Regions from separate parts of the Homo sapiens genome. Here all the other regions are linked to region 2. The links are contacts of gene promoters, found by promoter capture Hi-C in blood cells and fetal thymus (Javierre and others, 2016). All regions are on one chromosome and are shown on one strand. Each heading gives the region's core, a stretch centred on a gene start or on the middle of the fragment in contact. The rest is flanking DNA. Distances are from core to core; before and after follow the strand shown. Region 1 has its middle 87 kb from the start of LINC01307. Region 2 holds the start of SLC30A7 (solute carrier family 30 member 7). Region 3 has its middle 18 kb from the start of MIR553. Region 4 has its middle 130 kb from the start of LINC01307. Region 5 holds the start of SLC35A3 (solute carrier family 35 member A3). Region 6 holds the start of RTCA (RNA 3'-terminal phosphate cyclase). Region 7 overlaps CDC14A (cell division cycle 14A).

The links. Contacts are between HindIII fragments. The CHiCAGO score rates a contact against its expected background, and 5 or more counts as called.
Region 1: a fragment that was not itself captured here is called in contact with the fragment with the promoter of SLC30A7 in region 2 in 2 of 17 cell types (total B cells and naive B cells); the score reaches 6.5 in total B cells.
Region 3: a contact is called between a fragment that was not itself captured here and the fragment with the promoter of SLC30A7 in region 2, in 1 of 17 cell types (monocytes). The highest score is 5.6, in monocytes.
Region 4: a fragment that was not itself captured here is called in contact with the fragment with the promoter of SLC30A7 in region 2 in 2 of 17 cell types (total B cells and fetal thymus); the score reaches 7.5 in total B cells.
Region 5: a contact is called between the fragment with the promoter of SLC35A3 here and the fragment with the promoter of SLC30A7 in region 2, in 6 of 17 cell types (total CD8 T cells, naive CD8 T cells, naive CD4 T cells and 3 more). The highest score is 8.9, in total CD8 T cells.
Region 6: the fragment with the promoter of RTCA here is called in contact with the fragment with the promoter of SLC30A7 in region 2 in 7 of 17 cell types (M0 macrophages, M1 macrophages, naive CD4 T cells and 4 more); the score reaches 9.8 in M0 macrophages.
Region 7: a contact is called between a fragment that was not itself captured here and the fragment with the promoter of SLC30A7 in region 2, in 1 of 17 cell types (activated CD4 T cells). The highest score is 5.8, in activated CD4 T cells.

The regions. Positions count from the first base shown.
Region 1 is chr1:101,408,816-101,412,255 of GRCh38, reverse strand. No RefSeq gene overlaps it. Among named protein-coding and RNA genes, the nearest start is that of LINC01307, 87 kb to the right of the region's middle. RefSeq lists enhancers at 1,506-1,585, 1,886-1,935, 1,956-2,005. The HindIII fragment of the contact is 3,236 bases long and covers 1-2,985 here.
Region 2 is chr1:100,894,329-100,897,608 of GRCh38, reverse strand. It overlaps SLC30A7 (solute carrier family 30 member 7), which reads right to left and starts at 1,519. Exons shown (of 11, transcript NM_133496.5): 1 at 1,267-1,519; 2 at 938-1,039. The coding sequence starts at 1,346. EXTL2 (exostosin like glycosyltransferase 2) reads left to right here and starts at 2,767. Exons shown (of 5, transcript NM_001033025.3): 1 at 2,767-2,976. RefSeq lists enhancers at 1,015-1,174, 1,225-1,474, 2,025-2,094, 1,989-2,711, 2,712-3,280. The HindIII fragment of the contact is 2,158 bases long and covers 110-2,267 here.
Region 3 is chr1:100,297,364-100,300,885 of GRCh38, reverse strand. No RefSeq gene overlaps it. Among named protein-coding and RNA genes, the nearest start is that of MIR553, 18 kb to the right of the region's middle. The HindIII fragment of the contact is 9,400 bases long and covers 1-3,522 here.
Region 4 is chr1:101,451,369-101,454,843 of GRCh38, reverse strand. No RefSeq gene overlaps it. Among named protein-coding and RNA genes, the nearest start is that of LINC01307, 130 kb to the right of the region's middle. RefSeq lists enhancers at 811-2,010, 2,380-2,429. The HindIII fragment of the contact is 466 bases long and covers 1,024-1,489 here.
Region 5 is chr1:99,968,608-99,972,032 of GRCh38, reverse strand. It overlaps SLC35A3 (solute carrier family 35 member A3), which reads right to left and starts at 2,037. Exons shown (of 8, transcript NM_012243.3): 1 at 1,871-2,037. All of the region lies in intron 1 of LOC124904230 (a long non-coding RNA gene), which reads left to right. RefSeq lists enhancers at 1,588-1,677, 2,398-2,447, 2,508-2,557 and a silencer at 1,798-1,997. The HindIII fragment of the contact is 6,900 bases long and covers 1-3,425 here.
Region 6 is chr1:100,264,472-100,267,577 of GRCh38, reverse strand. It overlaps RTCA (RNA 3'-terminal phosphate cyclase), which reads right to left and starts at 1,362. Exons shown (of 11, transcript NM_003729.4): 1 at 1,158-1,362; 2 at 954-1,054. The coding sequence starts at 1,202. It overlaps RTCA-AS1 (RTCA antisense RNA 1), which reads left to right and starts at 1,404. Exons shown (of 3, transcript NR_110435.1): 1 at 1,404-1,574; 2 at 1,661-1,749; 3 at 2,331-2,836. RefSeq lists enhancers at 1,194-1,553, 1,122-1,671. The HindIII fragment of the contact is 11,806 bases long and covers 1-3,106 here.
Region 7 is chr1:100,378,912-100,382,145 of GRCh38, reverse strand. The region is part of intron 3 of CDC14A (cell division cycle 14A); the gene reads right to left. Among named protein-coding and RNA genes, the nearest start is that of CDC14A, 28 kb to the right of the region's middle. The HindIII fragment of the contact is 1,445 bases long and covers 650-2,094 here.

The DNA of each region.
Region 1 (3,440 bases), core at 118-2,617, 510 kb before region 2:
GTGTTGTTTGAGTTTCTTGTATTTGGATGTCTAAGTCTCTAGCAAGGCTGGGGATGTTTTCCTCAATTATTTCTTCAAATATGTTTTCCAAACTTTTAGATTTCTCTTCTTCCTCAGAAACACCAATCATTCTTAGGTTTGGTCATTTAACATAATCCCAAATTTCTTGGAGGCTTTTTTCATTTTTTTTTTCTTTTTTCTTTGTCTTTATTGGATTGTGTTAATTTGAAAACCTTGTCTTCAAGATCTAAAGTTCTTTCTTCTGCTTGCTCAAGTCTATTGCTGAGACTTTCCAGTGCATTTTGCATTTTTCTAAGTGTGTCCTTTATTTCCAGAGGTTTTGATTGGTTTTTATTTATGCCATCTATTTTACTGAAGATTTTTCCTTTCATATCTTGTATCTTTTTTTATTTCATTAAGTTGGACTTCACCTTTCTCTGATGCCTCTTTGATTAGCTTAATAATCAACCTTCTGAATTCTTTTTCAGGTAAATCAGGGATTTCTTCTTGGTTTGGATCCACTGCTGATGAGCTAGTGTGATCTTTTGGATGTGCTAAAGAAACTTCTTTTGTCATATTACCAGAATTGTTTTTCTGGTTCCTTCTTATTTGGGTAGACTATGTCAGAGAGAAGATCTGGGGCTCAAGGGCTGCTGTTCAGATTCTTTTGTCCCACAGGGTGCTTCTTTGATGTAGTGCCATCCCCTTTTTCCTAGGGATGTGATTTCCTGAGAGCAGAACTGTAGTGATTGTTATTTCTCTTCTGGATCTAGCCACCCAGCAGAGCTACTGGGCTGGTACCAGGGGATTTCTGCACAGAGTCCTGTGATGTGATCCTTCTTCAGGTCTCTCAGCCATGGATAGCAGCACCTGCTTTGGTGGAGGTGGCAGCGGAGTGAAATTGACTCTGTGAAGGTTCTTAGTTGTAGTTTTGTTTATTGTACTAGTTTTTTGCTGGTTGGTCTCCTTCCAGAAGGTGAACTTCCAAGAGAGCATCAGCTGTGGTAGTATAGGGAGGATCAGGTGGTGGGCAGGGCCTTGGAACTCCCAAGACAATATGTCCTTTGTCTTCGGATATCAGGGCGGGTAGAAAAAGACCATCAGGTGGGGGCAGGGTTAGGCAGGTCTGAGCTCAGACTATCCTTGGGTGGGGCTTGCTGTAGACACTGTTGGGAATGGAGTGTGTGGTTCTCAGACCAATGGAGTTATGTTCCTAGGGGGATTATGACTGCCTCTGCCTTGTCTTGTAGGCCACCAGGGAAGTGGGGGAAATCCAGCAGTTACAGGCCTCACCCAGCTCCCACATATCCCAAAGGCCAGTCTCACTCTTGCTGTGGCCCCCTCTACAGCACCAAGTTTGTTTCCAGGCAGTGGGTGAACAGGGCTGATAACTTGCTCCAGGCTACCAATCTCCAGCTGTAAAAGCAAGCAGGGCTTTCAGGTTTCATGGCTCCCCACCTGCCACAGCTTCTGTGCTGTGTCTGCACTCCAGATTCACCCCTCCCTCAAGTTCCATCCAGGAAACTTTGTGTTCAGTTGAAGTTGTTACACAGTTCAGCTAAAAGTTTCCTCCCTGTGGTCTTTTCCCAGTTCCTCTGGCAGCACTCCCCAAGGACCTCTGTGAGACAAAGTCAGAAATGGTTTCCCTGGGGACCAAGAGAGCCACAGGGCTCTTCTAGCTGCTTCTTCTACCCTTGTATTTTGCTCAGCTTTCTAGAATTGTCTCAACCCCGGGTAAAGTCAAATCCTTCTCTTGTGATCTGAACCTTCAGGTTCCCCAGTGAGAGTGTGTGTTTGGGGGTGGATGATCCCCCTTTCACACTTTCACACTTTGGCTGTCTCTCGGGGCCTGCAAGAGTGATTCACTTCCTTCAGAGGGTCTGTGAATTCTCTCAGATTTCCTGGTATGTTCCTGTGATAGATGTGGGAGCAAAAGTTCACGATGTGAGTCTCCACATGCTGCTCTCTGTCTGAATGGGAGCTGCAGTTTAGTCCTGCCTCATATCTGCCATTTTCCCCAACCTGTCTCCATTCCTGTTTTTAGCAATAGGAAGACTCACAGAGATACAGCAGCCTAGACTTCAACCAGCTTGTCATCTCCAATCAATTATTTGTGGATACATTGAGCACTGTGCTGACAGGCTCAGCTTTAATGTCATGATCTGTGAGTAATGTCTGCCATGACTTTGATTATATATTTTCCACATACCTATCATAAGTGTAAAGGGCTGTAAACCCAGACATTAATAATTATATAATTACTTTAGCCTGTTATTGTTTGTATCAGCAAAAACAAGGTAATAACTGTCCAATAATTGGGGGTAGGTTAGATAAGTTATATGTAATGTAGCAATATTTGACTATTAAAATATAATCTATACATTTATCAGATGATTGAAAAGATGTTTATGATTATTATGTGAAAAAATGAGTTTCAAGTTGTATAAAATATGATCACATTTTTCAAATGGATTGTTGAGATAGGATGTATGTTGAGACACTATTTACATATGTAAATATAAAGCAGGTCAGAGCTCAGAGCTCTTCCTCATCTCTTTATTTTCTTTTCTACTGCTTCCTAGGAATTTTGTGTTTTGTTTTTTCTTATATTGTTATTGTTGTTGTTACAGTTATTATTTCATTCTGTTTTGTTTTGTTTGTGCCTTTTTAAGGTAGGAAAAAAGAGAGAGAGAATCTGTTAGACTAGTAAAGTATTACATTTTTGCTATAAAAGGCATCAATATAATCAAAGGGTTTTTTGCCTGTAAATGTTTAATTCTGATTTTTACAAAACATCCCTTCTAAATAAAGCACAGAATGAAAGGCCCTGACACCACCTTTTCAAGAGTGGAAACCAATAAACTAGCAGAGAGAAAAAATGGTAAAAAGGGAGCCCAGAGGGAGCCCATCTGAGGCAAACCTGGATGAACTGACACATAACTCAGAGGAGAAAGTAAAGGACTGTTCTGTATCATCTTCCAAGCTTGGTACATCTTGAACATCTAGTAGTAAAGTTTTCTCAATGTACTTAGCCTTAATATCCTTCAAGATGTCACTAGCATAACTAAAGGATATGTGTGCTTATGGGTGTGTTTTCAGAAAGAAAGTCAGAAATAATGTCTACCAAAGTGTTAACAGTAATTATCCAAGAGTAGTGATATTATGCATAGTTCTTACATTATTTTTGCTTATTTATATTTTCTAACTTTTTTCTACAATAAACACAGAGAGTTTTAAATGAGATTTTTAAAATTATAGCTATGATTTTAAAAGAGAGAAAGAAAAATCATACAAAGGAGATTTCAGAAAAGAAGATTCCCATATTCTCCCATGTTTTCTTCTTCATGGCAGGTAATAGAACATGTTCTTACTTCTGGAAACTGCAAAGCTGGAAGGGATCTTAGAGGTGATATGGTTCCTCCTTCTCATTTTATACATGA
Region 2 (3,280 bases), core at 270-2,769:
GAAAATGGGTCTTAAACAACAGAGACTAAGTCTATTTAATAAATAGAAAACAGGTTCTTAATCTAGAGTCCAAGATTTAGTACAGGGAACCCAACAACATCCTGAAGCTTTATGTACAATTCTGAGTATTGGCTTTCATCAGATTTTTGAAGGAGTATGGGATCTAAAGACAGAATTAGTACACCTAGGAGTGTGACAGTCTTGTTAGCAGAACAACTTCATAAGACCTTAAGTTACTCAACAGCAAATACCTGAATAATAGTAACTTCACTGCCACAGAGTTACACACTAGATTTTCCTCCTCCTAAGGATGTTTCAAAAAAAACAAAAACCCTCAAAGGTGCCACCAAAACCCAAGAAATGTTGTTTCTAGAAACTATATGGGATTTTTACATCGCAGTTAAGACTACAGGAAAATCATGAGACAGTTTCGGCATTAAAGAGAGAAGAGAATGACACATATTCCTCCCGATATCACTTTATAAAACCTCCCATTCCAAGCCCCAATAACAAACTAAGTAGAACATCTCAGATATACTCTCTCAGAATCTTAAGGGTGAAATCCAAATGCCACTCCCCCCCGAGAGAGGCAGCAAACAAGTTTCTCCCAATTCCAACAAAGTGGGTAAACCTAAGGCCTACAATTAGAAATGAAAGATTCTGCCCATCTGCTAAAATAAGGAGGGGCTTGTCAGTCTTGTCTGATGGAACTGGAGGGGAGCGTGACAAGAGAGGTTGCACAGGATAGGCCCAGATCTTACTCAAGAACTGTAGCCCTACCAGATTGGTGTGGGTATGAGAAAGCAACTCAGCAGCAGAGGTAGGTAACAAAGGTAGGACCTGAACCTCCTAGTGAGGAGCTACGTGGCATTAAGCAAACAGTGCTTCGTCTCCCTCACACCCAGCTTCCGCCCAAACCATTTTCCCCTTTGGTTACCAGTTGCTCCAGATGCCGTAGAGTAGTTCCACAAAAGCGAAAGAGAGGTTCAGGCACAGGAAGAAAAACAGGTTCCGGGAAGTCTTGTCGGACAGTATAGACCTGGGAATGATACACGTGGAAAAGAGCCGGGAGAGTTAAGGAGGTGCCGGGACCCCGAGGCTGGGTACCCTCTTCAAGACCCTCCCAGTTCACATGCTCCTTTCTTCACAGCTAGGGGTTGACGGGGAGTTTTTGACTCTCCCTCACTGGACCTCGGGCCATCCTGAGGTCTGGGCCTTCTCCCTTTCTGCCGGACACCCCCTCCCCGCAAACACAGCACCCCGCACCTAAACCAGCCCGAGATCTTGCCGAACAAATTGAACTTGGGTGGTTTGTATTCATCGTCTTTGATGGACAGGGGCAACATCTTCTCTGCCCGGCGAAGGGCCGGGTCTACTCCCCTCTAGAAGTGGCTCCGTGGGGTGATGGCAGTGACAGTAGTGACGCCTCAAACGGGAATCCCCAGCGCTTGTCCGGGGCCGCGCGCCGCTGCGAGACACAGACAGACACAGACACACACCCGGGAATTCGCTTACTTCCGGCCCGGGCCGCGCAACGCGTCCTGGGACAGGAAAGGAGGGAGGCCGGTCGCGGGCGGGGCCTGCGCGGCGGAGGGCGTGGCTTGCGGCGGGGGCGGGATGAGAAAGGTGCTGGAGCTGTTGGAGGGACGCCAGGAGGTGGCAACTACCAGGGGGTGTGAGGGGCTGACCTGGGATGGAATCCTGCCACCCGGACTCAGGAAGAAAATCCTGAGGTGGCGACCTGCAGACTGGGCTGGGAGATGGAGAGCCCGCTCACGCCCACCCGACCGCCTACCACCAGTGTTCCCGGATGCATGGGCTCCAGCGCCTGCCCTTTCGCCATTTCCTCCCAACTGGCATTAAATCCTGGTGTGGTAGATATCAGTGATTAAGAGTCTAGGCAGCCACGTGTTCTATTGCCGCCAGTCCGCAGGAAACGCAAGTGATCGTTTTGCTGCGTTAACTCTATGGGCGCCCAAATCTTAGGAATCCATTCCACGCCACCCCGAAAACAGCGCTTGACCCTTCTGGACTGCCACGCAGGAGGCGATCAATGTTTTTCTTTCTTTATTTTTTTAAGAGACAAGGTCTCGCCCTGTCACCTAGGCTGGAGCACAATGAGGCTCACTACAGCCTGGAACTCCCGGACGCAAGTGATCCTCCTCAGCCTCCGGAGTAGCTGAGACCTCAGGCGTGCGCCACCATGCCTGGCATCAATCAATGTCTTTCAAAATAAAGGCTGTTAAACGTAGTATAGGAAAGAAGCTTTTTAATGGTAGGTTCTACCAGACGTGTTTGTTTGATTTTTAGGTTTGGTTAATGCATTGTTTCCCGTACAATCTCAACCCGCGGAAACCCCGAAACTCTAGAATTCGTGCCGGTCTCTTTCGCTTCCAGGTCATCCCCGGGGCAACGGCCGCCGCTCTAATTCTTGTCAGAACCTCCAGGCCAGTTTCAGCAACGTGCAGGCAGAAGCTGGCCCCTCGGTGGGATGCGAGGGCGTGTGGAGCGCGGGGAGGAGAGCCCCACAGGCCTTTCCTGGGCACCCGCGGTGGATGGGAAGGCTCCTTCGGGCGCCTTTCAGGGAAGTTGTTTGGCTGAGGGAAGGTGGTCCGTCACGTGAATGTTTAAAAGTTGTTACCTTGGAGAAGAAATGGAGGAAAGGATTGGCTTTCGGAGGTGGGCTGGAAACTACAAAACCGAGCTTCCTGGGAATGCCTTTTAGGCCGACAGGAAGTGGAGCGTCACCGAAAGGGAGGGGCGGCCACTCGGGGACTGTCCCTTGCTCCAGGCGCTCACTTTGCGGGCGGCACTTTTTCCAGGTTGTTAATCCAGCTAATGGAGAAGGATAGATGCACGCTACTTGGTTTAGAAAAAAAAACAAAAATGAGCAAACGAGACGCCCCTTCCGTTTTATGATAACTAAGCTGCAGGGAAATAAATCGGCTGGCCCTACTGCAATCTACTGCACTCGAGGTAAGGAGACACAGCAAAATGCTCCAGTATTAGTATTTTTCTTTTTGTAGTGAGGATATATGCATGTTTTGCTCTCGTTCTGAGAACTTTGTGTGTGTGTATGGAGTATTCGGTGGTTTTATTTTTGAAAATATGTACTTATTCTACAATTTTGAAAAATGTTAATTAAAACTGCTGTGTAAAAACAGCTAGGTTTCAGAAGTAAGTTCTGGGAAGAGTATTTTGTATTTGCCTTTGTTAGCGTATATTTCATTCTTTTAATTTAAGTGTAGAAATATTTAAAATTAGTAGCATTTACTCTTTT
Region 3 (3,522 bases), core at 895-3,394, 600 kb after region 2:
TTGAAATAACAAACAAAGGTGGGATCACTGTTTTTGCCAGGACAATTGCTCCCAATTACTAAGGATAAATTGAGTCGCTGCTACACTAACGGAGATACAGGAGACTATGTTTAGAGCCCAAAACATTCTCTAAGGTGCTTCTGGGTACTATCAAATCCAGTAACAAAAGTTAAGGCAAAACCACAGCAACACATAAACAGACACTAAGATTCAGACCCTTTGGAAGTGAAGTTCTGGATCAGCTCCACCAGAAAAGAATTCTGACTGGTTGCAGGGCCAGCTGATGGCAAAGGAAACAGACTATACAGCAGATATGACTACACAGGACTGTAATAACTATGTAATTTTCTTCCTTGCTTATTATGTAATTATTGACACATATTTACTTACTTTCCCCCTCCTCTTCATTGTCCCCCTTTATTTTACACCAGGACTGTTATCAGTGGTTAACTTTACAATTTAGTCTTTTAGAATATTTAGGTGAGATTACATAAAACAGACATCACCCAGATATGGATGTAGTGACTACTGGAACTTTGGGCCCTCTTTTTTAGGAAGAGGATGGAAATGTCTAAAAAAGACAGTTGTATCTTGCTAAGCAAAAGCAGTAAGATACTATCGTTATCAGAAGATAGAAACACAAATTGATGCTGACTGACCAAAAGGATAGATTCTGCTGGCTATTTACTGTCTCTCAGCTTCAAGCACACCTTTCAAAACTCTGGTTCATGTTTGGGTGTGCAAAATATAATTTCCAGACTCCCTTGCCACTTGGTTTCTGGTTAGGTTCTGCAAAAAGAAAACCCTGAGTGGAGCTTTGAAAGAGAGAGGAAGAAAGGGAGAAAGGACTTTCCCTGCTTCCAGTTCCTGTCAGGATTGCTTTCATAGCAGCAGCAGCAAACTGTGGCACTGAGCTTCTTCTAGCACCATTGCAGCCCTGGCAACACCCTTGCTGTGCTCCCTTGACAGTAGAAATACCAGCCCCACTGTGCTCCCTCACCAACTAGGCCATGCCACCTAAACCACACGCGCGCCTGCCAGGTTGCACTCTGATAACACTACTCTTACCTTTTATTTCCCCAGTCCTAAGGCTGTTAACTGCTTGCACTTACTAATCTTTGGTTATCTCAGTGTCCTCTCATTCCTCTTTCAGCCTTCCAACAACTACATAACAATTTCCTACGTAAGATCCCACCTTTGTTTGCAATAACAAATGTGGTTTCTGTTTTCTTGATTGAGCTATGACTGATTCATGGGCGTATAACCAGTGAAATATCAAAATCAGTATTTTGGTTATGACTGACTTTGGGGACCAATGAAACACATAGCAGAAAACTCAAAATAAGCCCCGTGAATTATTTGGTAGGACAGATCCACCTATGCCTCAGAAATTGTTGCCTCAGTGGTTCCACTTGCTGAACTCCAATTTCTCTAAACTCTTACAGGCCAGTGTGTGTGTTTTGCATTTATTTGGCCACCAATGGCTTTAAGTCACTGAGCTTTACAAGGTGGTCCAGAAGGTTCTGTCCTCCTAGGGATATCCTGCATAGCTGTTGTATAGTGCTTGACCTTTGGATATACACGCAGTCCCTAACTTACAATGGTCTAACTTATAATTTTTCACTTTACAGTGGTGCAAAAGCGATATGCAAGCACACTTCAGATTTTGAATTTTTACCTTTTCCTCCAGCTAGCGATATACGGTCCAATATCTCTCATGATGCTGGGCAGCAGCAGCAAGCCACAGCTCTGTCAGTTACACAATCACAAGGGCAAACAACCAACATACCATTCTGTTTTTCACTTTTATTACGGTATTCAATAAATCACGAGGCTATTCAACACTATTATAAAGTAGCTGATTTTGCCAAACTGTAAGCTGATGTAAGTGTTCTGAGCATGTTTAAGGTAGGCAAGGCTAAGCTATGATGTTCAGTAGGTTAGGTGTATTAAATGCATTTTTGACTTATTTTCAACTTACGATGCGTTTATTGGGAGATAACCCCATCTAAGTTGAGGAGCATCTGTATTAAATGAAGGGTAGCACATTGCTGCCCACAAAAGACATTGGCTAGGGTCAGGATAGGAAAGAAAAAGGTGGTACTACTGCTAAAAGAGAAAACGGTCATTTGAAATCTCCACCAGGTGATGGGATATCTGCCCGGCCCTACCCCATTAACATCTACAAAGACCAAGTCTTTCCCTTTCACTACTGCTTTTAATGTGCATTTTAATCTGGCTTTACTTGGAGTTTTTGTTAACTTTGTAGTAAGGAGTCCCTGAGTGTTTTCCCCCCTCCCCTTCTCCTTTAGGAAATGCCTGTGTGCCCAGAGAAATCACTGAAAAAACATATCATGCACACCTATCAATCAGCTCCATCTCAGAGCTGTGGAAGCAGCACACATTAAAACCCAGACAAAAACCAAATGTCACACTAATTTTCTACTGTGAAGGAAAGAGCTAACCAAAAGAAACCACCAACCATCACCACCCCATCAACACCACCATTACAAGAGTCTGATTATTTTAATGATCACCAAAACAATGTTTTCACAATTGTTCTTCCTAAAAAGACACTTTATGTTTCATACTAGCAGTAAAATTGCCTCCTTTCTTACAGGTTCTAATCAATAAAGAACAGATACAAGGAGGGCCAGGCATGGTGGCTCATGCCTGTAATCCCAGCACTTTGGGAGGCCGAGGCAGACGGATCACTGAGGTAAGGAGTTCGTGACCGGCCTGGACAACATGGTGAAAACCTGTGTCTACTAAAAATACAAAAATTAGCTGGGCATGGTGGTGCATGCCTGTAATCCCAGTTACTCAGGAGGCTGAGGCAGGGGAATTGCTTGAATCCGGGAGGCAGAGGTTGCAGTGAGCTGAGATCATGCCACTACAGTCCAGCCTGGGTGACAGAGCAAGACTCCATTAAAAAAACAAAACAAAAAAAAGGACAGATACAGGGCACTAATAACTTTGAAAATAGAGGCTCTCTGGTAAAGCTGGATTGGGAAGCAAGAGATCTAGGACCTGAAGTCAAAGTAGAGCCACCTACTGCCTCCCCTTAAATTTAGGCTTAGCCCCAGCCAGTGGGGAAGATTTTCAAGGCAGATCCTGAGCAAACCTGCCCTGCCACCACCTAAAGGATCACAGGTCTGTCTAAAAAATTCCACTGTACAAGTGTCTTTTCACGAAGGAGCATGGGGGGAAGGTGGGCGGGAGACCCAGCCTTCTTACTGTCCTTGCTGCAGGCAGTGCACCAGTTACGGGGAGTGGAGGGGACTGTCTCCTGATGGAAGTCAGGCTTTCACCAACCAGATTACTGACTCCTCTCCCTGCTTTGAAGAACAAGTAGCCCAAAAGAGATACTGGAAAAGTTCACTACAATTCTGCTTTCTCCTGTGGAGTGGGGCATAAGCCTCATCAATGTGGAAATGACTAAACGCCAAACATCTACTCCAAATTATTTTCCTGAAAGATTTCTTCTCAGTAGCTATTACAGAGAGATGATGGTATAATACA
Region 4 (3,475 bases), core at 7-2,506, 560 kb before region 2:
CACTTTGGGAGGCTGAGGGGGGCGGATCACTTGAGGTTAAGAGTCCAAGACCAGCCTGGCCAACATGGTGAAACCCCATCTCTACTAAAAATACAAAATTAACTGGGCATGGTGGGGTAGGCCTGTAATCCCAGCCACTCGGGAGGCTGAGGCAGGAGAATAGCTTGAACCCCAGAGGAGGAAGTTGCAGTGAGCTGAGATCACGCCACTTCACTCCAGCCTGGTCAACAGAGACATTGTCTCAAAAAATAAAAATAATAAAAACACTTCCTCATCCATTATTCAGCTTTAACTCACAACCTCCTCTGACATACTGTTTTACATAAAAGCAAATGGAGACCCAGAGATAGTGAGTTGTTCTCCATCAGACATTCAGCAAATGAGAGCTGAAACTAGAATCTGCATGTTCTTTCTCTTAGTCCAGCGGCACTGTGCAAGGGAGGAAATAAATCAGAAATTATGTGATACCGAGGAAAGGCAATAGAATGCTTCTTGAAAGATGAGGACTTTGAGGTGAGCTTGAGGGAAAGAATATTCACAAATGTCAGAGGAATAAAGCTTGGGTATGCAAGAAATATAACATCACTATCACCAAGACGGAATTTCTATTTTTAGCCCCCATCCCACCAGGTGGCATATACGATTCAATTACAGTTTTCTCCTCCTTTTTCCAAGATTGGTTTAATATAGGGAAGGGGAAGCCTACAGGATGTCAAGGCTGTGGGCTGGGGCAGGAAGTGGGTAGAAAGTTGTTCTCATCTCTCCACACTAGCATCTGCTGAGATGCCTTCTTTCCTGTGACTTCAGGAAGAACACCCCTACATATTCTCTGTTTCTCTTCCCTCCCACCTTCTTCTCTCATTTTGTGTGTCTCCTGAGGACATAGAAAACCTTTGGCTGCTTCCTACATGGTGCAAAAGAACTCAACAAGCCACCATCTCTCCTACTTCTACACTAAGCCTGCAGTACAAGACTGTAAACATGATTAACTTTCCATCTCACCCAGGAAGTAAGGCACAAGCTTTCTCTGCTGTGATCCCCAAACCCATATGGGGATACGTCATTATTCCTTCATCAAGATTCAGCCCCAAGAGGCTGGGAGGAGTGTCGGACCTGTCTCAGAGACACATCGGCAATGTCCTGTGATTCTCTCCTGATTTGTTTTCTCTCTCTCATCCCATAGAATCTTTACCTATCTGAATATCAGAAAACTGCCTCTGATGCACAGCATATTCTTCCAAATCTATCACTTAGGGCCTAAATTCTGCCCACTGCAGGGCTAAGGTCTCTAGCACCCAAGTCCAAATTTTCACAATTCACAAACCAAGAACTTCACTCTTATTCTCAGAGCTGTGCTCTAAAGATCCTCTCTGGAGCTGATGAATGACCTTGAGTAAATGAAAGGAAGTCAAGAGTTCAAGGTAATGTAAAGGGAGATAGAGGCACACATGACAAATCAGTCAATATATTTATTGGACTATATTAAGCTTATAGTTAGATACTGTGTTCTGCAGGATCTCAAGAAATAGTTACGGGAGCTTCCTGGGAGCTGAACACGTGGAGGTTCCTGGGGGGTGGCACGCCCAGGGAGGGCACAAAAGCTCTTTGCCCTGTTAGCACTAGGGAATGTATCTGAGTCACACGGCACCAAAGTATGTTACCAGCAGTGAATCCTTATGGGTCAGCAGCGACCTCAATTCTTGCCTCCTCAGAAGAAAGAATTTGACGGAGGAGCGGAAGGCAGAGTGAGAGACCCAGGCAAGTTTTACAACAGAAGTGAAAGTTTATTAAAAAGCTTTAGCACAGGAATGAAAGGAAGTAAAGTACATTTGGAAGAGGGCCAAGCAGTCTAGTTGAGAGATAAGCGCGCGGTTTGACCTCTGACCTGGGGTTTTATACATTGGCATGCTTCCGAGGTCTGCATCTCTTCTCCCGGGATTCTTCTCTTGAGGTGGGCTGTCCGCATTCATAGCCTGCCAGCACTTGGGAGGGGCCGCGTGCTCTGTGTTTACTGTTTAGAGTTGAGCACATGTTCCCTTACCAGTCAAATGTCCTAGAAGGTCATTTACCAGTTAAACCCCACCATTTTGCCTCTTAGTACACAGGCTTGAGCTCACTCACCCAACTCCTGATATCTTACCGAGAAGCTGCTAATCACCAATTTCAGATGTTTCTATCTATTGGGAGACTGCCTTTTCCTGGCACTGGCTGTGGCCAATTATGATTTTAGAGAGACAGTTTAGCAACTGCCTGACCATCACATGGTGGTCGCCTGACAGTCCTACTGGAGCGGAAGGGGACCTCTCTTGCCCAGCTTATGTCTGAGTAGCTGCCTACTGTAACAGCCTCTTACCCCATACCTCACCTTACGTGTCTCTTCATATGTATCCTTTGCAATATCCTTTATAATAAACCAAGTAACATAAGTAAGTGTCTCCCTGAGTTCTGTGAGCTGCTTCAACAAATTAATTGAATCAAAAAGGGGGGTCATGAGGACCCCAATTTGAAGACAGTCAGTCAGAAATTCCAGAAGCCCAGATTTGTGACTAGTGTGTGTGTTGGGGGCGTGCTGTCTTGGGGAACCCTTAACCTGTGGGATCCGACACTATCTCAGGGTAGATAGCAACAGAACTGAAAGATAGTATCAGAACTGAATTAGAATACTGGTATCAACTGATATTCACTGCTTGGCGTGTGGGGGAAATACCCACACACATTTAGTCACAGAAGTCTTCTTCTGTGTTGATGATTGTTGTGGCATGAGAGTGAAACCACCTTTGCAAAAATTATAACTCAGTGAATTATTACAGTGAAAGAGATCTGACCTAACCGACTCCATCTTGCTTCTAACCTCCAAGCTGTCCTTGTTCATCCCTGGCCGTAGGCCAAACTAACTCCGGGAGGGAATTAGTTTATAGTTTAATTTTGAAACAAAGATAATAACAATCATTTCCCAAAACAAAACCCCTTCCTGCCTGGGAACTAGACTGCCTTTACGGGACTTACAAATTAGCCACACAATTAGAAGTTATGGTTAGGGGTCACACAGCCGGAAGCTGCAAAATTCTCAACCTCCCCAAATTATTCCTGGAGATAACATCACTATTGTAAAACCTAACATCACCAGTGCTTGAGATATTTTGCCGACACTGCACTCAATGGATCAGCTGACACCACCCAGATCAATAAACTGTCTCATCTGGCCTTGTGGCCCCCACCCAGGAACTGACTCAGCACAAGATGACAGCTTCAGCTCCTTATGATTTCATCTCTGACCCAACCAATCAGCACTTCCAACTCGCTGATCTCCTACCCACCAAATTATCCCCAAGTCTCTGGGAGGCTGATTTCAGTAATAATAAAACTCTGGTCTCCCGTACAGCCAGGTCTGCATGAATTAAACTCTTTCTCTATTGCAATTCCCCTGTCTTGATAAATCAGCTCTGTCTAGGCAGCAAGTAAGGGGAACTCATTG
Region 5 (3,425 bases), core at 788-3,287, 930 kb after region 2:
CAGCTACTTCAGGAGGCTGAGGCAGGAGAATCGCTTGAACCCGGGAGACGGAGGTTGCAGTGAGCCGAGATCGCAACATTGAACTCCAGCCTGGGCAACAAGAGCAAAACTCTCTCAAAAAAAGAGAAAAAGAAAAAGAAAAAAAGAATGAACTGGATTTATGGCAGATTTCAGAAAGCTGCATAAGAAAGAGATGGCATTTAAGGAATTGAAGAATAAGTAGAATTTCTACAAAGACAGCAAGGAAGGCCTTCCTTGTTTCTTCTTTGTAGGAAGAAATGATAAAAGCAAACACCAAGGCTGACAGGCATATAGCATGTTCAGAAACTGGACGTCTAATTAACGACTAGTTTGGCTAAAAAATAGGATATGTGGAAAAAAGTAATACTTGTTTAATAAAAGGAAAAAAGAAAGAATCATATTGGGGGCCGGGTGCGGTGGCTCACGCCTGTAATCCCAGCACTTTGAGAGGCCGAGGTGGGTGGATCACGAGGTCAGGAGATCGAGACCATCCTGGCTAACATGGTGAAACCCCGTCTCTATTAAAAATACAAAAAAATTAGCCGGGCGTGGCGGCGGGCGCCTGTAGTCCCAGCTACTCAGGAGGCTGAGGCAGGAGAACGGCATGAACCCGGGAGGCGGAGCTTGCAGTGAGCTGAGATTGCGCCACTGCACTCCAGCCTGGGCGACAGAGCGAGACTCCGTCTAAAAAAAAAAAAAAAGAATCATATTGATTTTACTGGAGCCACCGTCAGACTCAAATTCTGAAGGAAAAATCTGAAGCCTCCCTAAATAATATAAAATTTATTAAATGCCTCCCTAAATAATTTACATTTTATTCTGAAGCCGATCGAGAGTCACTGCGTATTTCTGAGGAAGGAATAACCAAAAAAAGAAAGTCATAAGATCTTTGGCTTTAAAAGTAATATGGAGGCAAGTGACTGGAAGGGTGCCAGGCTGAGGACAAGTCCAGTTTGGAAGTTATTGCTATAGTGCAAGTAAGAAGAGGAAAGACGAGCATATTTAGCAGACAGGTAGTGGGAATGAAAAAGGGGAGAACTAAATTTGAGATGCTGAAGAGATAGAATCAACAGTTGGGAGGAAAGTTAGCCTCAGAAATATAAGTTTACAAGTCATTCCCTTGAAACACCCTGAGTTTACCAGTGAAAGTGAATAAGAACACCAAGTAAGAAACTGCACCAAATTTCATCTTTAACTACTAAAGTCGAATGTTGATTTCAAAAACGAAAAGACTTAATTTTCAAATACTGCATTTAAGAGAACATAATAAAAGATCGTCTTTTACTATAAAGCAATGCACCCACACACCTGTTCTGATGAGAATCTCACCCCACTTCAAACAGTCCTTGTGTTCTTACTAGCCTTACCAAGGGCAGCCTTTCCATTTCTTTAAGTTCCTGCGGCTTCTTGAGCTCCAGGTGCTGGTCGGGTGCATCTGTGCCTACCACAGGGCTCAACACCGAGCGAGAGCTCATGGGATGTTCACTGAAGGAATGACGGGCCCCAGCCGGGCCCACCCGTCACTAGCTCCGCACGCACCAGGCGCTGAGGCACACACTGCCGTCTTCATTCGCTTGACACACCCCTCTCCTCGGGCCTTTTTTCCTCCTCCACCCAGTACATTCCGCACGTCGTCCGTCGGAGTTACAACGTGTCACCTCATCTGCTCCCACCCCTACTTAGCTAGCACTGTATTTCAGGTCTTCGATACCGTCCCCTTCACCCCTACAGACTTCACATCAGCCCCCTCGCATGCCTCCTCTTCCTCCTCCTCCAGGAGCTTCCCGGGCCGCCCCGCAGCCGCTAGCCTCCTGGTTCCCGCCCCTCCCCAGGTGCGCTGAGGACTCACCTCCCGCGCAGCTCGACCGGCTGAGCCCACCACCGGGGGCCGCGGTTCAGCTCCGCCGGGCGCCCCAGGCTGCCGAGTCCGCTGGGTCCTACGCGACCGCTGACCCGCAGCGCCGCCGGCTCCCGTCGCCGTAGCCACCGCCAGCTCGGTGCAGCCCAGGCGTTTCCGGGTTCCCGCGGTCCCGTCCCCCAAATGCTCCGGCTTCCGCCTCGGCTCTGGCAAATGCCGTTCCCGGCTCGGCTCTGGCAGCCCCAGCTCGGCACTTGGCAGCTCTGTCCCTAAGGCGACGCACCTGGGCTGCTCTGCTGGCAGCCCCTGGTTCCTGCTTCACCGTCGCGTGGAGGCCTGGGGCACTGCTTTCTGCTACACCTCTCCTAGGAGCGCGAAACAGATGGAGTGACACTCGTCGAGGGCCTCTGCGGGACTGTCTGTTTGCAGAGGGTGCCAAGGTGTCCACTGCGTAAGGAAGGGCAAAGTCCTTTGGGGCAAAGAACCCTGAGAGGAACGGGGAGATGGATTTTGAAAGCAAACGAACCCTCTCCTAAAAGTGACTGTCACTGACCTGAAAACAACCAGATTAGCTATGGCAAAGGCTGCCAACCAACCAGTGGTCTGCAAGAAGGCTTGTTCTTCCACTTCACCCACCCTGACTGAGATCTTGAGACTGAAGGAAACCCAAAGCCGTACCACCAATGGGCCTAGTGTCATCAACCGGGAGAGGAAAAAGAAAACTGGGCCCAGAGGATTGCAGAGTTATGAGGGACCAACCCCTTCCTGGCTGCATGGATCACAGCATTACCTTTTAAAAGTGTTCCAGTAGCTGTGTTGGAAACCCTCTAACCACGGCAGCCCATTCAGGTGATGAACAGGCTGAAATCAGTACTTCAGGTTCAGCTGGATTATCAAATAAGCGAATAGGATTATCTCTTTTTGTTAACTCAGGGCTGCTATAAATTAAGCCTATGTCTCTTTATATTGCAAATGATTAAAACCATGTCCAAGAGAGACATACTTAGAAAAAAAGTGATATTGAAGAAAAATAAGTAACTGTATTAGAGTAGAATAACTGGTTTTAAAATTTTCTGCAATACAGTCTTGAGAAAATTCCTGGATGGTAAAATACATATTAGATCTTAATACATGCCCAGTTTTTTTTGAAACCAAAATGTGCCTGTTAGATGATGATAACAGCATGCCTCGTTTTATTGTGATTTGCTTTATTGCTCTTCACAGACATTGCTTTTGTTTTTTTGTTTTTTTTTTTTACAAATTGAAGGTTTGTGGCAACCTTGCCTCAAGCACATCTATTGGTGCCATTTTTCCAACAGCATGTGCTCACTTTGTGTCTCTGTGTCACATAATATTCAATAATTTTTGCAATATTTAAATTTGTTCATCATTATTATATCTGGTATAGTGCTTTGTGATCAATGATCTTTGATGTTACTATGGTAATTGTTTTGGGGTGCTGATATGGTTTGGCTGTGTCCCCACCCAAATCTCAACTTGAACTGTATCTCCCAGAATTCCCACGTGTTGAGGGAGAGACCTAGGG
Region 6 (3,106 bases), core at 113-2,612, 630 kb after region 2:
GAGCAGATCCTTTTCTCATGGCTCTCAGAGGAAACCAACCTTGTCAGGACCTTGATCTTGGACTTCCAGCCTCCAGAACTGTGAGGAAATAAATTTCTGTTGTTTAAGCTCCACTCTGTGTGTGGCATTTTGTTATGGCAGCCCTAGCAAACTAATACAACACCTACAGCCTAATGAATTGGATTCCCCTGTTGGTGAACTGGAGGGCTGCAAACTATGACAAAGGCAATTAACATTAACATATCAGTAATTGCCTTTTGGTAATTTCAAAACTGTAGACAAAAGACTGAGACCGCTGATTTATTAAAATGTAATAAATACAGAATACATACAAAGCAATCAGTGTGGCTTCAAACCTGGGTCCTCTTCTAGCAGGTGCATGTACCTGAAGCTCAACTAGTGGCATGCCCAGCTACCCAGACAGAAGAAATAAGGTCAAATGTCAAGGTGTTTCCCTCTCCACAACAGATAATTCTGGTCATAACAGCTCTCTGGAGGTATGAATGAAGGCTGGGATAACACATCTCAGGATTCTTTCCTGTTTTATGATTCTAAAACTGACAGCAGAACCAGAATGCACTGGTTATAAAACAGGGTTTCCTCTGGCGTCACAAGCATTTCTGCCCTATCTATCTTGCCAGCTCATACGTGCTGTTCGGATATTTGGAATGCCCGGTGAGGTGAGAAAACATTTTAAAAGCTAGCTCTTCAGCAAATGACACTATTTAGTCAAACAGAGAAAACTCGAGACCATTTCTAAACTCACCCCTCCAGGCTTTCAAGACTTTACAACCCAGGCCACCGCCCAGGCAGAGTGCCCCGCCCTGGATCGCCCATACCTGCGTCTGGGACCTTCTGGGTTCCACCACTCGGACTCCCGATGCCCCAGCCCGGCAGCCCGACCCCCCGATCCCCCAGCTTCACGGCCCAACTCCCCCTCCAGCCAGATTTACCTCAGGCCTGGCGTGCTCCGGCCGGCTCGGATCTTCTGCACCCGCAAGGGGAGGCCTAGGAGACAGCTCAAGGCCGTAGAGACTCTCAGGATCTGGCCGCCCTGCAAAGGTTGGGGTACAGGGAGAAGAGAAGTAAGCACACCGGTGGTGAGAGCTCCCCTCCTTAGTTAGGCTGCAGCCCCGGCCGCTTCGCTCTGTACTCACCCCTTCCATGATGCTGCCATCGACCTCCACCCGCGGCCCCGCCATGGGGGACACCCTGGGGCCCAGCCCGCAGCGACAAAGCCTCCGCCAGAGCGGGAGAAAGAAGAGACGTTGGCTCCCGCCCAGTAGTTCAGAAACCTTGGTTCATGCCTGGGGCGCAGGAGCCTGACGAGAAAGCGGAAGAAGCGGCGCCTCTCGGGACACTGGAGTCAGCAGAAACGAACCCCCGGGTTCGCCCAGTTCCGCAGTCAGTGCGCATGCGCGTAGCTCGGCTTAAAGGAGCCGCGCTGGGAACACTGCGGTCGGGGCGAGGAAGCTGCCGGGGAAGTGAGATGACGGTCGCGGGGGTGCCCAGGAGCCCTGAAAAACTTGTGCCCTGGGCACGGCAAAATCTGCAGGTTGCAGAAAGTCTCAACTGTAAGATAACTCCTCCAGTTATCCCGCAGGCTTGTGCTTTATCTCTGTTTTGTGGGTAAATATGTGTTTATATCTGTTTTCTCGAGGATCCTGGCATACCCCGAGGTGCCGACTTTTAGAGCTGAAGATGCAAGAAAGATTGGGATCCTGCGATGCACCGAACCTGTCTCTCGAAGTGTGTGCGCCCTGGTACATTGATACTCTTGGCCTTTGGTTCCTTGCGGTGTGCGTGTTTGTGTATGCGGAGTGTGTTATCTTTCTTTCTAGGGTGACACACCATTTATTTGAGAGGCGGGAAAGGCAGAATCACTAGTTTAATATTCTGAAAAGCCAAAGTTATGCCATTTTGCTTGAGAGTGAGTGCAAGCTCTTGACTCCCAGGAACAGTGCAGCTAACAATTCACCTCAGGCGAGGGCAGAAGCAATAGCCAGCTTCTTGGTTCTGCCTGTGGCTCAGTTCCTACATAATTGAGTACCAAATAATATGTAAACCTCTAGGGAAGCAAAAAAGAGTAATTCAGCTTCTACCCCCGAAGTTATTGGAGGTATAATGGAGAGACTGAGACGTAATCAATTACAATGTCATCCTCAATAATAATTAACATGTACTGTATTTAGAGTTTATTATGGGGACAATTACAATATATTAATAATATACTGTAACAATAACAGGCAACACTTATTGAGCACTTAGGTGTTGTGCACTGCATGCATTCATAACATGATAAAGTACTTACTGTTTTTACTGTTTTACAGCTTCCTGTGTTAAACAATTTGCTACAAGGTCACACAATTTTAACTAGAAGACTGAGATGTGAACCTGGGTGGTCTGATGTGAACACCACTGTCTGGTAATCCCAACGCTCTGCTGCTTTGCGACAGAGAATGTTTTAGGGAACACACAGACTATGTACTTAACCAAATCTGGAATTTGCCGTAAGATATTAATCAGAGAAGTAATGATACTTGCATTTTAAAATGAAGGCTTTGGCAGTAGGAGAAGGGTGAATAAGAGGCTTAAGAGCCTGAAGGGAGAAATGCCAATGATACAATTATCCAGCAAGAAATAATCAGAAGTTGAAGTAAGGCAATGATGGTAGGGATGGAATATAAAAAAGCTGTACCCCTATCTGACATCTTTATTGGGGGAACCCGCCCCCAATATTTCAACGTAGGTTCTTTCTATTTTCCATAAGTGTTGGCCAGCTGAGAAATAAAGAGAGACAGTATAAAGAGAGGAATTTTACAGCTGAGCCACCGGGGGTGACATCACATATCGGTAGGACCATGATGCCCGCCTGAGTCTCAGACCAGCAAGTTTTTATTAAGGGTTTCAAAAGGGGAGGGGGTGTAAGAACAGGGAGTAGGTACAAAAGTACAAAGATCACATGCTTCAAAAGGCAAAAAGACCTTACTACTAGTAAGGGTCTAACAAAGATCACATGCTTCTGAGGGAACAGGACAAAGGGCAAAAGCAGAACTACTTATAAGAGTCCAACAAAGATCACAAGGCAAAGGGCAAAAGCAGAGCT
Region 7 (3,234 bases), core at 123-2,622, 520 kb after region 2:
TTTTCAGAAGACTTTAGCCCAGTGTTCTTAGCATGTCTGTGTCAAGGATCCCTCTGAGAACCTGAAAAAAAGCCATGAATCCTCCCAGAAGAAAAATGTAAATACATACAAAATTGTATAATTTCAAGGGTTTATGGATCCCTTGAATTACCAGAATAATAATTCCAGCTCAAGGCTATCAATCATTGATGACATTTAACATTAAATAACATACACAGTTTAACAAATTGTTCTCACTTCAATGCATCTTCCCTCTTTTGATTGCTTCCCCTATCCTAGGGGAAAGACCAAACAGCAACCTATTACTGCCTAATTCCTAGTACTGACAATTTTTTAAAGTACAGTTTAAATAAGCAGCAGGTTTTTTATTGGTGATGATGCATTTTATGTTTGGATTTTTAATCTAAGCATATGTTTGATGGGATAATTTTCCATTCTGATTGACATAATTAAAATAAGGACATTGGGAATAGAATGCATATAGACACAGAAACACAAAAATAGCGATAAATCACCAACTCAAATCATCAACTGGAAAAAAACATCTTCTCATTTCAAAAATGAGAAATTTGGGATTGGAATAAAATGTACAGCAAAATATTACCTATCTATATAAAGCACAGAATGAGGAAGAAAAATCACACAAGCTTTCTTGGAAGGAATAAAAATTTCCAAACTAAAAAATGAAATGTGCCTAAAAGAACTGGGAAATCACACAAGAGAAGAATCCTAAGACGAAGTTACTAGTTAACACAGTGCGAAATTACTCAGAGAAGTAAAGGAGTTTGAGGATCCAGCAAGTGCCATCAGATTCAGCATTTAAGACGTTATTAGAGCAGTTTCGGTAGAGTAGGGAAGGCAAAAGTTAGATAACAAAGGGTTAAGAAATCAGCACACAGGAAGGATGGAGGCAGGCTCTTCTTCTGAAACCTCTGGAAGCAAAAGGAGAAAGGGGGATCTGCAAATGAAGGGGATCATGACAAAGTCAAAAGAAGTCTCTGTGTGTCTGTTGTCCCTGCACTAGGCACTGAGAACACAAAGATACATGACATCCTCCACCTTCCACCCTCTAGAAGCTCATAGTCTAGTGAGAATGACAGGTGCAAACAGGTAATTACAATTCATCAACGATACAGATCTGCACAGAGAATGATGGGAAAACAAGGGAGGCACCCTCAATCCAGTCCAAAAGGACAAGAAGATGCTTCCTAAAGGGTGGTGGCTGGACAAGGTATTAAAGAATGAAGAGCTATCAAGCCAGAGGGTAAGGGCATCCCAGTCAGACTGGTCTTCATGAGCAAATGCATGGAACAGCTGGTATGGTAGAGTAAAGTGCAAGGCTGGGAGTGGCAAGGGTACTGCTGCTTCCCAGTAAATTAGTGCATGAAATCATCCACTGGGAAAACAACAAGGGTGAGAGCTGGCAAGGCAGAAAGACAAGAAAGCAAAGTACCCAAGACCTTACTGAAGTAAGTGACCATGGGCTGCAGGCAAGAGACATCAGCAGGGTGCCAGTGGACTGAGAGAACAGGGAGACTGAAGGTCTAGCAATCCCAGTAGTGTGAGAGGGACAGAATGTGCAAAGTGAGTAACAAAGGCATTTTCCAAGTGGGAGAATCTGGAGTCTGGGTTCGTGGAAGTGAAGCAGACAGAATGGCCCTAACACTTACTGGAATGAAAGAGGCAGAGGAGCCTCAAAGTCAGCGTGGGACAACAAGGTCAGGTAGCTGGGGCAATGCTAAGAGTGAACAAAGGATGACTGTAAACCAGAGGCTATGGTTCCTACTGAAGGTGGAAAGAAGAACAGGAAAAATGTGGTCAAGAGCCATGAAATCTAGCCCTGACTTTGCCTGCTGCACTGGGCAAGTCACACACCTTTCCCAGGCTTCCCTTTCTGAGTCTTGACTAAATGGTCATTTAGATTCCTAAAATTATATTGGACAGCTTTCCCATATATAAACAATAGCTTTAAGGCTGAGAAACAGGTGTTCATCGATTTTGTAGAAGAACTGTCTTTATTATATTCCCTATCAGAATTCACAAATGTTACATTGGTAACTTTATTATGTATAGGACTTTAAAATGTACAAAGCTTTTACATATTGATATAGTTTGGATATTTGTCCTCTCCAAATCTCACGTGATCCCCAGTGTTAAGAGGTGGGGCCTTGGGTCATGGGGGCAGATCCCTCATGAACGGCTCGGTGCCATTCTGAGGGGATTGAGTGGGTTTTCACTCTTAGTTCCCCCAAGATTTTGTTGTTAAAAAGAGTGTGGCACCTCCCTCCCCTCTCCCTTGCTCCCTCTCTTGCCATATGACATGACTGTTCCCCTTGACCTTCTGCCTTGAGTGAAAGCTTCCTGAGGGACTCACCAGAAGCAGATGTTGGTGCCACGATTCATGTACAGCCTGTGGAACCATGAGCTATATAAAACTCTTTTCTTTATAAATTACCTAGCCTCTGGTATTCCTTTATAGCAATGCAAAACAGACTAAGACATGTTTTCTAATATAATACTAACCACCACCCTGTGACAGTTCTATAATTCCTATTTTACAGATGAAGAAACTAAGATTCCACAAAACTGAAGCAATTCCAACTTTGGACTGGTACAGTAAATCTTTTTCTCCTAATTAGAGATTCTATGTAGTATGCTTCATTGAGACAACTCATGACTTATCAACATTTGGGTTTTTAAAATTCAATCATTCAGCAAGTAATGCAGTGCCCATTAATTGTCCTAAAGCTACATATGTCATTCCAGACAACCAACAGATTACCTTACCACTAAAATGAACCAAGGAGAGTGTTTAAACTTTATTAATAATGTCGAAACACAGCATTATAAATGAAAGCAAATAGAAACAAGTTTACATACATATACTTACCATACTGTTCAGTGTAGAAAATGGTAGAAAAAATACTCTCAACTCAACCCATCTACTCTTCTGCAACTGCTATAAGTAGAACACTGAGTCAGACCAGTGATTTTACTTTCCTGATAATGACTCCTTTCTCTTTGGCTACCCTAGATAGTACTCGGTTCCCAGATTAATTATAATACCCAATTCATACCAACTACATACTAATGACTAATCAAGACAGCAAAGAAATTCCTTGGTCTTCAAAAGAAAAAAATAGACTTCCATTATTTATTAATTATCCTTTTCTTGTTTACTCAGCCATTAAAAGTTCATTTTCTATAAAAAGGATATTATTTACTTCCTAGGTG